Regions from separate parts of the Homo sapiens genome. Here all the other regions are linked to region 3. Evidence: promoter capture Hi-C in 16 types of primary human blood cells and fetal thymus (Javierre and others, 2016). All regions are on one chromosome and are shown on one strand. The core of a region is centred on a gene start or on the middle of the fragment in contact, and the rest is flanking DNA. Distances in the headings are between cores, read along the strand shown. Region 1 has its middle 15 kb from the start of PCDHA1. Region 2 overlaps LOC105378198 (a long non-coding RNA gene). Region 3 holds the start of SLC25A2 (solute carrier family 25 member 2).

What was found. The method cuts DNA at HindIII sites, captures the fragments that hold promoters and counts their contacts. A CHiCAGO score of 5 or more calls a contact.
Region 1: a contact is called between a fragment that was not itself captured here and the fragment with the promoter of SLC25A2 in region 3, in 5 of 17 cell types (M1 macrophages, M2 macrophages, M0 macrophages and 2 more). The highest score is 13.4, in M1 macrophages.
Region 2: a fragment that was not itself captured here is called in contact with the fragment with the promoter of SLC25A2 in region 3 in 2 of 17 cell types (M1 macrophages and M0 macrophages); the score reaches 5.7 in M1 macrophages.

The regions. Positions count from the first base shown.
Region 1 is chr5:140,769,016-140,773,575 of GRCh38, forward strand. No RefSeq gene overlaps it. Among named protein-coding and RNA genes, the nearest start is that of PCDHA1, 15 kb to the right of the region's middle. The HindIII fragment of the contact is 3,232 bases long and covers 1-2,911 here.
Region 2 is chr5:140,740,259-140,744,849 of GRCh38, forward strand. The region is part of intron 3 of LOC105378198 (a long non-coding RNA gene); the gene reads left to right. Among named protein-coding and RNA genes, the nearest start is that of ZMAT2, 42 kb to the left of the region's middle. The HindIII fragment of the contact is 3,613 bases long and covers 1,311-4,591 here.
Region 3 is chr5:141,301,131-141,305,781 of GRCh38, forward strand. It overlaps SLC25A2 (solute carrier family 25 member 2), which reads right to left and starts at 2,919. Exons shown (of 1, transcript NM_031947.4): 1 at 1,505-2,919. The coding sequence starts at 2,735. The coding sequence ends at 1,830. The HindIII fragment of the contact is 3,271 bases long and covers 136-3,406 here.

The DNA of each region.
Region 1 (4,560 bases), core at 46-2,545, 530 kb before region 3:
GGTGACTGGAAAGTTCAAGATTGCATATTTCCATCTGAGGGTCTCAGGCTGCCACATATCATGGTGGAATGTGGAAGGTTAGGCAGTGTGCAAAGAGATCAAATGATAAGAGAGGAGGCAGATGTTTATGTGTGCATGCCAGGTTCTTTTTAACTACCAGCTCTCGTAGGAACTATTTAGAGCATAAACTCACTAACCCAGCAGGGAAGGTATTAATCTATTCATGAGGTATCCACCTTCATGAACCAAATGCTTCCCACTAGGTCCTACCTCCTAACATTGCCACAATGGGGATCAAATTTCAACATGAAGCCTGGAGGGGACAAACATTAAAATTATAGCCACCTGCAAATTCTTTAACCTTCAAACAATCAAACACTTTGCTTCAGTCCTTCAGTTGTTTCCCTAGACAGATTAGAAGAGACAAACAAAAAAAATTGTAAATGAAGTCTGCTCTTCACCCTTTGGTTCTAGGGAAGGAACTGGGAACTGTGCTGTCACCAATTCAAGACCATGTTTGATATTGTGCCAGGAAGAAGGTCAGGCAAGGAAGAGTAAAATCATCACCAAATGTTTCTTTCTGAGACAGGGTCTTTCTCTGTTTTCCAGGCTGTTTTCATTTTTATTTTTTGGTAGAGATGGAGTCTGACTACCCAGGCTAGTCTCAAACTCCTGGCCCAAGCAAACCTCCTACCTTGGCCTCCCAAATTGCTGGGATTACAGGCATGGGCCACAGCTCCTGGCTAGATTTTTTTTTTCTTACAGTCTAAATATGTTCATAGATTTTTTTTTCTTGATTGGGCGTTTACTTGGTTGTTGTAGACCTTTGACTGTTTTTTGTTTTGTTGATGTTTCTGTTGGGGGACAAAAGTTCGGAGCCTCCTTGTTCATGATTTTGCTGTCTTCGCTTCTGATTTTATAATTAAACTTGTTGATATGGTTTGGATATTTGTATCCTCCAAATCTGATGTTAAAATGTGATCTCCAATTTTGGAGGTGAGCCTAGTGGGAGGTATTTTGGTCATGGAGGTGGATCCCTCATGAATGGCTTGGTGCCCTCCCTGTGGTAATAAATGAATTCTCACTTTATTAGTTCACATGATAGCTACTTATTTACAGGAGCCTGGCACCTCTCTTGCCATGTGATATGCCTGCTCCCCTTTCACCTTCTCTCTCCCTTTTTTTTTTTTTTTTGAGACAGAGTCTCACTCTGTCGCCCAGGCTGGAGTGCAGTGGAGCGATGTCAGCTCATTGCAACCTCCACTTCCCTCGTTCAAGCAATTCTCCTGCCTCAGCCTCCAGAGTAGTGGGGACTACAGGCGCGTGCTACCACACCGGGCTAATCTTTGTATTTTTTTAAGTAGAGATGGGGTTTCACTATGTTGGCCAGGCTGGTCTCGAACTCCTGACCTCATGACCTGCCCGCCTTGGCCTCCCAAAGTGCTGGGGTTACAGGCATGAGCCACCATGCCTGGCCTCCTCCTTCACCTTCTATTATGAATAAAAGCTCCTGAGGCCTCAGGAATAAGAGGCTATCAGAAATAGATGTTGCCACCATGCTTCTTGTACAGTCTGCCAAACCATTGGCCAAATAAACCTATTTTCTTTATATAGTACTGACCTCAGGTAGTCCTTTATAGCAAAGCAAATCAGATGAACACACTTATTATTTAAGATAATTGTAGGCTCACATGCAATTATAAGAAATAATAATCCTCTGTACTCTTTACCCACTTTTCCACAATGGTAACATCTTCCAAGACTATCAATATTACATCCAAAATATTGATATTGATGCAGTTAAGATCCAGAACATTTCCATTACTACAGAGATTCCTTATATTGCCCTTTTATGCCCATACTACCTTTCACCCCTGGCCCACCTCTTTCTTAACCCTTGCAACGACTAATCTGTTTTCCACTTTTAAAATGTTGTTATTTCCAGAATGATATATAAATAAAATCATACAGTATAAAACATTTTGTGATTAGTCATTTTCACTCAGCATAATTCTCTGGAAATTCATCCAGGTTATTGAATGTATTAATATAATGGAATAGAATTCCATTACATAGATGTTCCCCTGTTTATTATTCATCTGTTGAAGGACATCTGGGATGTTTTAAGTTCAGGAATATTATGAATGAAATTTGTATTACCATTTGTGTAAAGGTTTTTGTGTGAACACAAGTTTTTACTTCTATTAAATAAATGCCAAAGAATGCAATTATTGTTCTATATGAGAGGTCCATGGGTAGTTGGTTGCTTTGTTTTGTTTTTAAAGAAACTGCCTTACTCTTTATCAGAGTGGCTATAGCAGTTTGCATTATCACCAGAATGTATGAGTAATCTAGTTTCTCTGAATTTTTTTCTAACATTTGGTGTTTTCAACATTTTATCTGAGTCATTCTGATAGGTATCTAATAATACCCAATTGTAGTTTTATTGCTCCTCCCTAATAGCTACTGGCATTGAAAATATGTTCATGTGTTTCTTTGCCTTCTTGGATATTTTCTTTGGTAAAATGTCTTTTCATATCCAGGTTCTAATTGGGCTGTTTGCTTTTTTACTGTTGAGTTTTGACTGTTCTTTTATATGTACTAGATATAAGTGTGTTGTCAGATATGTGCTTGCAAACATTTTCTCCAAAATTTTAGCTTTATCTTTTATGCTTTTAATATGTTTTTTTTAAAAGGGTAAAAGTTTAAAAATGTTTAAGAAATTCAACTTATTAGTTTTTCATTTTACAGATTATGCTTTTGATGTCAAGTCTAAGAGCCTTTTGCCTAGCCCTAGATCCTGAATATTTTCCTTTATGTTGTTTTCTAAAAATCTTAGAATGTTATGTTACTTTTAAGTTTGTGATAAATTTTGAATTAATTTTAGTATAAGATGTGAGACTTAGGCTGAAGCTTATTTTTTTTGCCCATGGATGTCCAATTGCTCCAATGCCATTTTTTGGAAGCCTATCTTTCCTTCAGTTAGTTGCATTTGCACCTTTGTCAAAATTCAGATGGGCATATTTGCATGGGTCTACTTTTGGATTATTTATTTTATCTTGTTCCATTGATTTACATGTCTATTCATCTACTTATTATTATACACAGTCTTGATTACTGTAGCTATTTAGTAAAAATCTTAAAATAGAGTACATTGATTTTTCCTACTTTTTTCTTGTTTCTCAAAATTGTTTTAATTATTCTAGTTCCTTTGGTATTCCATATAAATTTTACAGTAATCTCATCTATAGCCACAGAAAATCTTGCTGGCATTTTGGTAGAAACTGTGTAAAATTATATATCAATTCAGGAAAAATCGATGTATCTCCATGACTTTTTGAGTCTTCCAACACATGAGCACAGTGTATGTCTCTCCATTTATTTAGATTTTAAAAATCTTTCATCAGTGTTGTGTAGTTATTGTAGTTTTTAGAACACAAGTCCTGTACATGGTTTTTTTACATTTACACCTAAGTATCCTTTTTGAGTTAATGGAAATGGTATTATATTTTAAATTTTGGTATCCATTTGTTCATTGTTAGTATATGGGTATACAATTTACTTTTCTATGTTCATCTTTTTTTTAGTGACTTTGCTGAATTCATTTATTCTAGAAGTGGTTTATTTTTTGTCCATTCCTTGGGATTTTAAAGTACACAGTTGTGTCAAACATGAATAAAAACAATTTTATTTCTTTCTCGTTTGTATTCCTCTTATTTACTTTTCTTGCCTTATTGCATTGTGTAGAACTTCCAGTGCTATGTTGAATACGAGTGGTGAGAATAGATATTTTTGCTTTTTTCTTGATCTTGGGATAAAAGCATTCAGTTCTTCACAATTAAATATAAATCTGTCTATAGATTTTTTATAGATGCTTCTTACTGGGTTGAGAAAGTTCTCCTCTATTTCTATTTTTCTGAGAATTTTAAAAACCGTGAATTGATATTGAAGTTTGGTTGAATGTCTTTCTGCATTTATTGACATAATCATTATGAACATATGTCTTTTCTTCTTTAGCCCTTTAATATGGTAGATTATAATGACAGATTTTCAAATATTGAATATATGAAAAAAGCCCACTTGATCATGGTGTATAATTCTTTTTACTCATTGTAAAATTTTATTTGCTAGTATTTTAAAAATTGTTGAAATCTAAATTTATAAAAGTTATCACTCTGTGTTTTCTTTTTATTTTTGTATTGTCTTTGGTTTTGGCATCAGGGTGATACTGTCTTCATAGCATACATTGAGAAATATTCCTTCTACTTAGATGGATTACTTTCCTATGTGGGGACTTCCAAAAGTTCATGGAAAATAGAATTAAAAGATCAAAATAAAAATTATCAATTTTATTTCTCAACAAAATCTCCATCAAGTTCAAGACACTTTTAAAATTTATTTTATTTTGTTTTATTTTAAGCTCCACGATACATGTGCAGAATGTGCAGGTTTGTTATATAGGAAAATGTGTGCCATGGTGGTTTGCTGCACCTATCACCTAGGTATTAAGCCCCACATGCATTAGCTATTTTTCCTGATGCTCTTCCTCCCCCACTCCCA
Region 2 (4,591 bases), core at 1,867-4,366, 560 kb before region 3:
TTGTGTGTATTTTTTACAATAGGATTCACTATCAGGTTATTTTAGCATTAGAAAATCATTTAGGAAGTGTTCCTTCTTATTAATTAGGATAGTTTGTATATGATTGAAATGACTTAATTTTTCTTTTCTTTCTTTTTCTTTTATTGAGACAGGCTCTTGCTCTCTCACCCAGGCTGGAATGCAGTGGTGCGATCATGGCTCACTGCAGCTTCCACCTCCTGGGCTCAAGCGATCCTCCTGCCTCAACCTCTCAAGAATCTGGGACCACAGGCACATACCACACGCCCAGCTAATTTTTTATTTTTAGTCGCGATGAGGTCTCACTGTGTTGCATGGGATGATCTCGAACTCCTGGGCTCAAGCCATCCTCCTACCTCGGCCTCCCAAAGTGTTGGGATTATAGGTGTGAGCCACTGTGCCTGGCCCTAACAATTCTTTGTTAGATGAATATTCATGTTAACATTTTTATGCCTTTGCAAAATATAATTCCCAGCAGAACATGGTCATATACCATGATTGTCTCCTTTTCTTCTTTCTACTTTTCCTGAAGTTAATGCTTGACTTTTCTTCATGTGCTTAGTTTTCCTTGGACCTCTTGTTAATTTTTTGCACATTCTTCAATAACTCTTAGTACAGTTTTCTATGTGGTATATCATTTCAGGTAATCAGAGAAAGTATTAATACAAAAGAGCTATAAGATACCAGAATGTTTAGGCCCAGATCCAGAGAGGAGTAATTGTTGTGGGTTATTACCTAGTAACCAGGTAACAATGAAGCTCTGGTAGCTTTAAAGACCCAAGGCTGGCATTTGGCAGTTTGGGAGGATTTCATGGGTCTGACTCATGTACTGGCTGTGAAAGTTGATTTGAGCTAAAATGACCCCGGTTTGGTCATCTGGGAAGCACTGAGGCTGGTCCAAGACTTGTGGCAGGTAGCCACTGAGTGGGAGGAGGGAGAGTGAGCCTAGACACAGCTGGGGGAACAGTTTTTAGGGAAAGGAAGACATGGGTTTCTCTCAGTGGTGTGCATCCTCAAATGGGGGCTTCCCAAGTTTGTGTGTCCTGGTCTGGAAGTTGTGGTGGGTAGAAGGAAACTTAAAACTCAGCATCGTTCTTGAACCATTCAGGCCTAGGCTGACCCTACTGCCCAGGGTATACCAACTCATGACACTTATCTGTCAAGGAACTCCAAATTCAATCTACTTTCTGCATTATCTCAGTGATATATTTGCATGCTTCTTCCTGTCTGTGTTTTGGGGGCAGGTTTGATGTCCATGGACCCTCTTTAGTCCTCTATGTATGTCCCCACCAAGCTTATCATTTTCTTGGAGATGGGAGAGAGCCCTTTTTCAAGGAGGGGTCTAAAACGGCATGGATTCCTGAGAAGACTAGGCTGGGTCAGGAGCTGAAGAGGTTTAAGGTTGGGACAGAAACTCTGGAGGTTAGCCTTGGTAAGAGTCTTTTGAGACCTACTCCATGAGTAAATCTGCTCTTCACCAAATTTCCAGATCCCCACAGTTCCTCTGAGCAGCTTCTCACTACTGTCATCTCTCCCAGATATGAACCAAATCCCTGGTTGCCAAGACAAGTTGACAAGGTTTGAAAAAGAAACTATTTTGAAACAGAACTTCAAGGAAAAATAAGAACCCATTCTCAGGCAAATCCTAGCAGCTTTGATTAGTAAAGAAACAGCAGTCCTTGTTTGATTCAGACAGTTTATTACTTACATAGACACAAAAGGAAATAAGCAGAATTTCCAGCTCTCCCACAGGACAGCACCAATACAAAAGGGGATGGCAACCTGAGTAATGAGACACCCTGTTGCTGAGGAGCTGAGTCCATTTGCAACTAAGAAGTTTATGGCTTGCAGTTCTGCCCTAAGAAAGATGAGGCAGAATGCCTCATACCTTATCAGAACCTGGGAAGTGATAAGAACTGCCTCATGACAGCCTCCCAAGAAGATAAAAAGATGAGTTGAAAGTGGCCTTGTGGTAGTTCCTCATAAGCCTGTTCCCCAAGGATCACAGAATGTCCGCCAAGACTTTGATTAATTATGGTTAAGCCTTGCCTGTATGGCCTATGTGAGTACATATAAGGTTGGCAGGTCAACGTGGCAGAGCCATGCCCCTACACCCATATACAGAAGAGAGCAAATGAACAGATAGTTGACCAGCCTGAAAAAGCAAAACAAGGGAAAAGAGAATAATAATTGTCATAATAAGTAAAAGGATAATATGCAAGGGATTTCCCCTCTTTTTCTGAGATAGCATCTTACTCTGTTGCCCAGATCTGAGTGCAATGACACAATCACAGCTCACTGCAGCCTCAACTTCCCAGGCCCAAACCATCCTCCCACCTCAGCCTCCCGAGTAGCTGGGACTACAGGCACATGCCACCATACCTGGCTAATTTTTAAGAAGTTTTTGTACAGAGGGCATCTCACTCTGTTGCCCAGGTTAGTCTCAAACTCCTGAGCTCAAGCAATCCTCTCGCCTTGGCCTTCCAAAATGTTGGGATTGCAGGCATGAGCTGCCCCATCTGGTTAAGAGTTTTTCTTTTGCCCAGGAATTTGAGCTATGCTGAAAACAGAAAGAAGTAATTCTAAGAGTAGCTTCCACCTGATTGCCAAGAGTTAGTGGCCAAGCCAGCTTTCTGATAACCAATCACGATATCACCCCCTTACCTTTCCCCAATCCCCAGTTTGTATAAAGACGGTACTAGGGAAAGGGATAGTTGTCAGAATCCTTGATAGTGGGTTGGGGGAAGGTTGTCACAGTGTGAGACCTTTCCTTTCATCTAGGGAGCCATGTGATGAGAAAGAATTCAGTAGGCCTCTGTGGAGAATGTGAGTGCCTGCAAGAAATGAAGAATGACATTTGGTACTTGGTTGGACAATTGGACTCATACATATATACATATATAATATATATATATATAATATTTTTTAAAGTCAGGAACCAATTATAGATCATGCATTGCTTTTAGTTGTCATGACATCTCTCCAGTCTCTTTAATCTAGACCAATCTCACCTGATATTCTTTTCCTTTTTGTGACAGCCAGTTTTAAAATAATTTTAAAAAGCTGTGGTAAAATCCATAATATAAAATTTACCATCTTAACCATTTTTAAGTGTACAGTTCAGTAATGTTAGGCACATTCACATTGTTGGGCAGTCAATCTTCAGGGCTGTCTTCTTGCAAAACTGAAACTCTATGCCCATTAAACAACAACTTCCCATTTTCCATCCTCCAGCTCCTGACAACCACCATTCTGTTTTCTGTCTCTGTGAATCTGACTACTCTAGGGACCTCATATCAGTGGAATCATATAGTATTTGTCATTTTGTAGTGTGATGGGATGATCTCCGCTCACTGCGACCTCCGCCTCCCGGGTTCAAGCGATTCTCCTGCCTCAGCCTCCCTAGTAGCTGGTATTACAGGCGCACACCACCATGCCCAGCTAATTTTTGTATTTTTAGTAGAGATGGCATTTTACCATGTTAGTCAGGCTGGTCTCGAGCTCCTGACCTCATGATCCACTGGCCTCAGCCTCCCAAAGTGCTGGGATTACAAGCGTGAGCCACCGTGCCCTGCCGGTAATTCTATTTTTAATTTTCTGAGAAACTGCCTTACTGTTTTCTAAAAAGGCTGCACCATTTTACATTCCCATTAATAGTGCACAAAGGTTCCAATTTCTGCACACCCCTTCCAACACTTATTTTCCCTCTCTTTCTGGTGTGAGATGATATTTATATGGTTTTAATTTGCATTTTTCTAATGATAATTGATGTTGGGTATTTTTTTTAGGTGAAAGCAAGTTTACTAAGAAAGTAAAGGAATAAAGAATGGCTATCCCCCAGGCTGAGCAGCCCCGAAGGCTGCTGGTTGCCTATTTTTATGGCTATTTCTTGATTGTATGCTAAACAAGGGGTGGATTATTCATGAGTTTTCTGGAAAAGGGGTGGGCAATTCCCAGAACTGAGGGTTTCTCCTAGTTTTAGACCATATAGAGTAACTTCCTGATGTTACCATGGCGTTTGTAAACTGTCATGGCACTAGTGGGAGTGTCTTTTAGCATGCTAATGCATTATAATTAGTATATAATGAGCAGTGAGGATGACCAAAGGTCACGTTCTTCGCCATCTTGGTTTTGGTGGGATTTGGCTGGCTTCTTTACCACACGCTGCTTTATTAACATGGTCTTTGTGACCTGTATCTTGTGCCGACCTCCTATCTCATCCTGTGACTTAGAATGTGACTGGGAATGCAACCCAGTAGGTCTCAGCCCTATTTTACCCAGCCTCCATTCAAGATGGAGTTGCTCTGATTCAAAGGCCTCTGACAGACTTCCTCCCTCCCATTTATTTATTTACTTATTTATTTAATTTGGAGACAGAGTTTTGCTCTTTTTGCCCAGGCTGGAGTGCAATGGCATGATCTCAGCTCACTGAAACCTCTGCCTCTCAGGTTCAAGTGATTCTCCTGCCTCAGCCTCCCAAGTAGCTGAAATTACAGGTGTGTGCCACCATGTCCAGCTAATTTTGTATTTTTAGTAGAGACGGGGTTTCACCACGTTGGTCAGGCTGGTCTCG
Region 3 (4,651 bases), core at 1,669-4,168:
GACCCCAAGGTAAACTTCAAGAAAGGGTTGTCCCTAACATGACTCATTGTGGAGCAAAAGCACTAAGTTCTGTCTAGTTCTATCTGAGAGTAGATGACTTTTACCCACAAGTATTATTAGCAAATAGGGAACAAAAGCTTCTCTTAGCTTTGTCACTTTCTGTTCCCCAGGAAGGTTTCTGGCTGATGGAGGCAGAAAGGACAGTGAGTGACCCAAAATGAATCAACAACCTCTAAATGGGCCGATAGAACACCCTTGAGTCCTACCCAGGCCAGGACCCAGAGACTGGAAGCTAAGAACTGTTATCAGCCACATGGGTCTTCATCAAAGCAGAGGTGCACAGCTCCTTCCTCGAACTAAAGCCCAGCTCGTTTGAGGGGGAGAACGGAAGCTGGCGCAGGAAGGCTGTGTGGATTCCCCAAGGCCTGATGATACTCTAGATCATCCCTAACCATATAGGCAGAGTGCAGAATATAATCCCACTTTGAAAATGGATAACACTATATTAAGGGTATTGTTTCTTGGGAAAATCCACAATGCTTACTCTGAAACTTTTAACTCAAGAATGTCAAAGCCACACTGGTATGCAGGTACCTTCTCCTCTTAAAAATATAGATGAGGCCAGGCGCAGCGGCTCACACCTGTGATCCCAGAACTTTGGGAGGCCTAGGCGGGTGGATCACCTGAGGTTAGGAGTTCATGACGAGCCTGGCCAACATGGCAAAGCCCCATCTCTACTAAAAACACAAAAGTTAGCCGGGTGTGGTGGCGTGCACCTGTAGTCCCAGCTACTTGGGAGGCTGAGGTAGAAGAATCACTTGAACCCAGGAGGCGGAGGTTGCAGTGAGCCAAGATCGTGCCACTGCACTCCAGCCTGGGCAACAAGAGTGAGACTGCATCTCAAAAAAAAAAAGTATATATATATATATACTTTTTCTCATATATATATATATATGAGAGAGAGAGAGAGAGAGGAGTATTTTGGTATCAAGCACCACATGAAGATGTTTCAAAACTTGAACCGCCTAATGTAGTGCGCATGTTAAGCAGACTTTAAAAGAGATCCTGGCCGGGTGCGGTGTCTCATGCCTATAATCCCATCACTTTGGGAGGCTGAGCTGGGTGGATCACCTGAGGTCAGGAGTTCGAGACCAGCCTGGCTAACATGGTGAAACCCCATCCCTACTAAAAATACAAAAATTAGCTGGGCATGGTGGCGGGCACCTGTAATCCCAGCAACTCGGGAGGCTGAGGCAGGAGAATCGCTTGAACCAGGCAGGCAGAGGTTGCAGTGAGCCAAGATCATGCCACAGCACTCCAGCCTGGGCGACAGAGTGAGACTCTGTCTCCAAAAAAAAAGAAAAAAAGAGAGAGTGATCCTAAGTAATCATTCATACCTATCTTCACAAAATATGGTCAATTCTGGGTTTGGGGGGCTGATATTTGAGATTATATATAGAACTAAATTGTTTCACTCACGACATAGAATCATCCAAACTGCATGTACACACAAATGGCTTTATGCAAAGGCCCTGACAGAACGATATTTAGTTTTTCAGATTAGGTACATAGGGCCAACCAGCCCACCCTGTACATTCCAGCAAGTGCAAGAGCAGCAACTTTCCTATTTCAATACAATTATGGGCAGAAATTATATGATGTAAAATAGAGGCCCTTCCATAAAGTTAAGATTTAGGGTAGAAGAAGGGAAGATAAAACCAAAATTCCCATGAAGTCAAAATTAGACAGTGGTCTTGTACTCTGCTGAACCCTGTGATGAACTGTAGTCCTCAAACTCATGGACTCGGATCCAGGTTCACCAAGACACTTCAGTATGCTTCCAACTGTTTCATCATCATCTTCCTGCTGTATTCGTAGGCCACAAACAGTGCCCCATTGGCAGGGATTGCTCGAATCATAGTAGCTTTCAGTCCAGAATATAAGGCTACTATTCCTTCATTTCTCACAACACTTAAGAGGGTACCAATAAATCCTGCCTGTTTCCCATACATGGAAAGAACTTGAATTCTGGATTTAATACAATCCACTGGGAACACGACAAGCCACAGGCAAATTCCAGCAACTCCACCACTTAACATCAAATGGACAGGGCCTAGTTCATCTTTTGATCTCCCTGACGCAAAAAACGATCGGCTCAGTTCATAGCCACCAAAGAAAAAGAAATAACCCGGTACTTCTTGAAGTAGAGTACTCGAGAGTCCATGGTAGAAGCCCAAGGGGCCATCCTTTTTAAGGATACCCTTCACGACAGACCAAATTGTATTATGGCTTTTTGCTATCTTCCCTGACATCTCCATTTCATACATGGTCTGTAGCCGGCACTTCACAAGCTCAGTGGGGCAGAGAGCCAGTGCAGCAAATGCAGAGGCGAAGGACCCCGCGGCTGCAGTCTGGAGATCACTCAGCTTTGCCTGCTTGTCCATTCCAGCCACTTTCCTGACAAACTGCTGGCAGAACCCGTAGCACATGAAGAGGACCGAGTTTTCGGCGACGTAGGCCATAAGTGCCGGGCCGGTGCCCTTGTAGAAGCCCCGGAGACCCACTTGAGCGTATGTCTTCAGGAAGCAGTCGGTGAGGCCCTTGTACAGGTCAGGGAACGTCTGCATCTTCACTTTTATTGTGTCGAAGGGCTGCCCAGTCAGTACACACGCTGTCCCCCCTGCGGCCCCCGCTGTGAGGTCGATGGCGGCTTGGATGCCAGGACCGGACTTCATGTTCGCTCACTCGTCTGAGGGTCCCAGTGGAAGGCGACTAACTCCCCAGAGCGTGAGACCGGCTTTTCACGTCCAGCCGCAGCGAGCGCGGGGAATGGAGTTGGGGGTGGTGGGGTGGCTCTACCGCCTGTTCTGGGCTCTCACCCCAGTGCGGGGGAAGCCGCTCAACCCTACGCTCCGCCGCGGGCCGCCCCCTCCCCGCGCACTAAAATAACCCCCAGCTGCCGGCCCAGCGCGCGGCTCACTAGCGTTCCTGCGGCTCCTGGCGCACTGGCCGGGCCCCCAGCCGCCTCCAGCCTGGAGCCGCCATCCCTGCACCCGCAGGCGGGGGACGCGGACCGAATAAATACTTTTAGTGTACTGCGACTGGGCGCGGTGGCTCACTCCTGTATCCCAGCACTTTGGGAGGCCGAGGCGGGAGGATCGCTTGAGCCCAGGAGATCGAGACCAGCCTGGGCAATATGGCAAGACTCCATTTCTACAAAAACGAAAAAATACCCGGGCGCGATGGCGCGCGCCTGTGGTCCCAGCAATTCAGGAGAATGAAGCGAGGATCGCTTGAACCCGGGAGGTCGATGCTGCAGTGAGCTATGATCGCACACTGCACTCCAGGGTGGGCGAAAGGGTGAGGCTCTGTCTCAAAACAAAACCAAAACCAAGAAAACATGTAAAGCTTTTCGATAAATTCTTGCAATTATGGCCGGGAACTCTAGACGCCGCAGTTCAGCTGGCGGCAAAAGAAATGCTGTCCTAATCAGTCAGCCCTGCTTCTTTTCTTTTCTCTCTTTTTTTTTTTTTTGACTTAGGGTCTCACTCGGCCGCCTAAGCTGGAGTTCAGTGGCGCGATCCTGGCTCACTGCAGCCCCAATCTCCTGGCCTCAGGCGATCCTCTCACCTCAGCCTCCTGAGTAGCTGAGACTAGAGGGACTACAGGCGCAAGCCACCACATCTGGCTAAATTTTGTATTGTACAGACGGGGTTTCGCCATGTTGCCCAGGCTAGTCTCGAACTCCTGAACTCAAGCAATCCACCCACTGGCCTCCCAAAGTGTTGGGGCTTACAAGCATGAACCACCACACCCGGCCTATCCCACGCTTCTTACCATGCAAAAAACAAAAACAAACAACCCGAAAAGAAGATGCCCTCACTTGAATAGACCCTGAATTCAGAGGGTCAATCTACAAGAAAACTGCTTTAAAGTAGATAAGACAGGCCAGGTGTGGTGGCTCATGCCTGTAATCCCAACACTTGGAGAGGCTGCGGAGGGAGGCTCATTTGAGCCTAGGAGTTCAAGGCTAGCTTGGGCAGCAAAATGAGACACCCCTTACCCCCTACAAAAAATAAAGTAGAGAAGACAAACTGTCAGAGGCGCTGGAACCACAGCAACTCCATCTTGACTAGGGACTGAGTAAAATAAGGCCGAGACCTACTGGACTGCATTCCCAGGAAGACAGGCATTCTAAGTCACAGGATGAGATAGGAGGCCGGCACAAGATACGGGTCACAAAGACCTTGCTGATAAAACAGGTTTCAGTAAAGAAGCCAGCCAAATCCCACCAGAATCAAGATGGCATAATAAGTGACCTCTGGTCGTCCTTACTGCTCATTATACGCCAATTATAATGCATTAGCATGCTAAAAGACACGCCCACCAGCGCCGTGTCCACTTACAGATGCCATGGCAACAATAAGAAGTGACCCTATGTGGTCTAAAAAGGGGGAGGAATCCTCAGTTCCGGTAACTTTGGACCCCTTTCCCAGAAACCTCATGAATAATCCACCCCTTGTTTAGCTTACATTCAATAAAAAACTGTAAGTATCCTTAGTCAAGCCGCCCAGGCCACTGCTGTGCCTATGGAGTAGCCATTCTTTTGCTTCTTTACTTCTCTAATAAACTTGCTTTCACTTGACTCTAT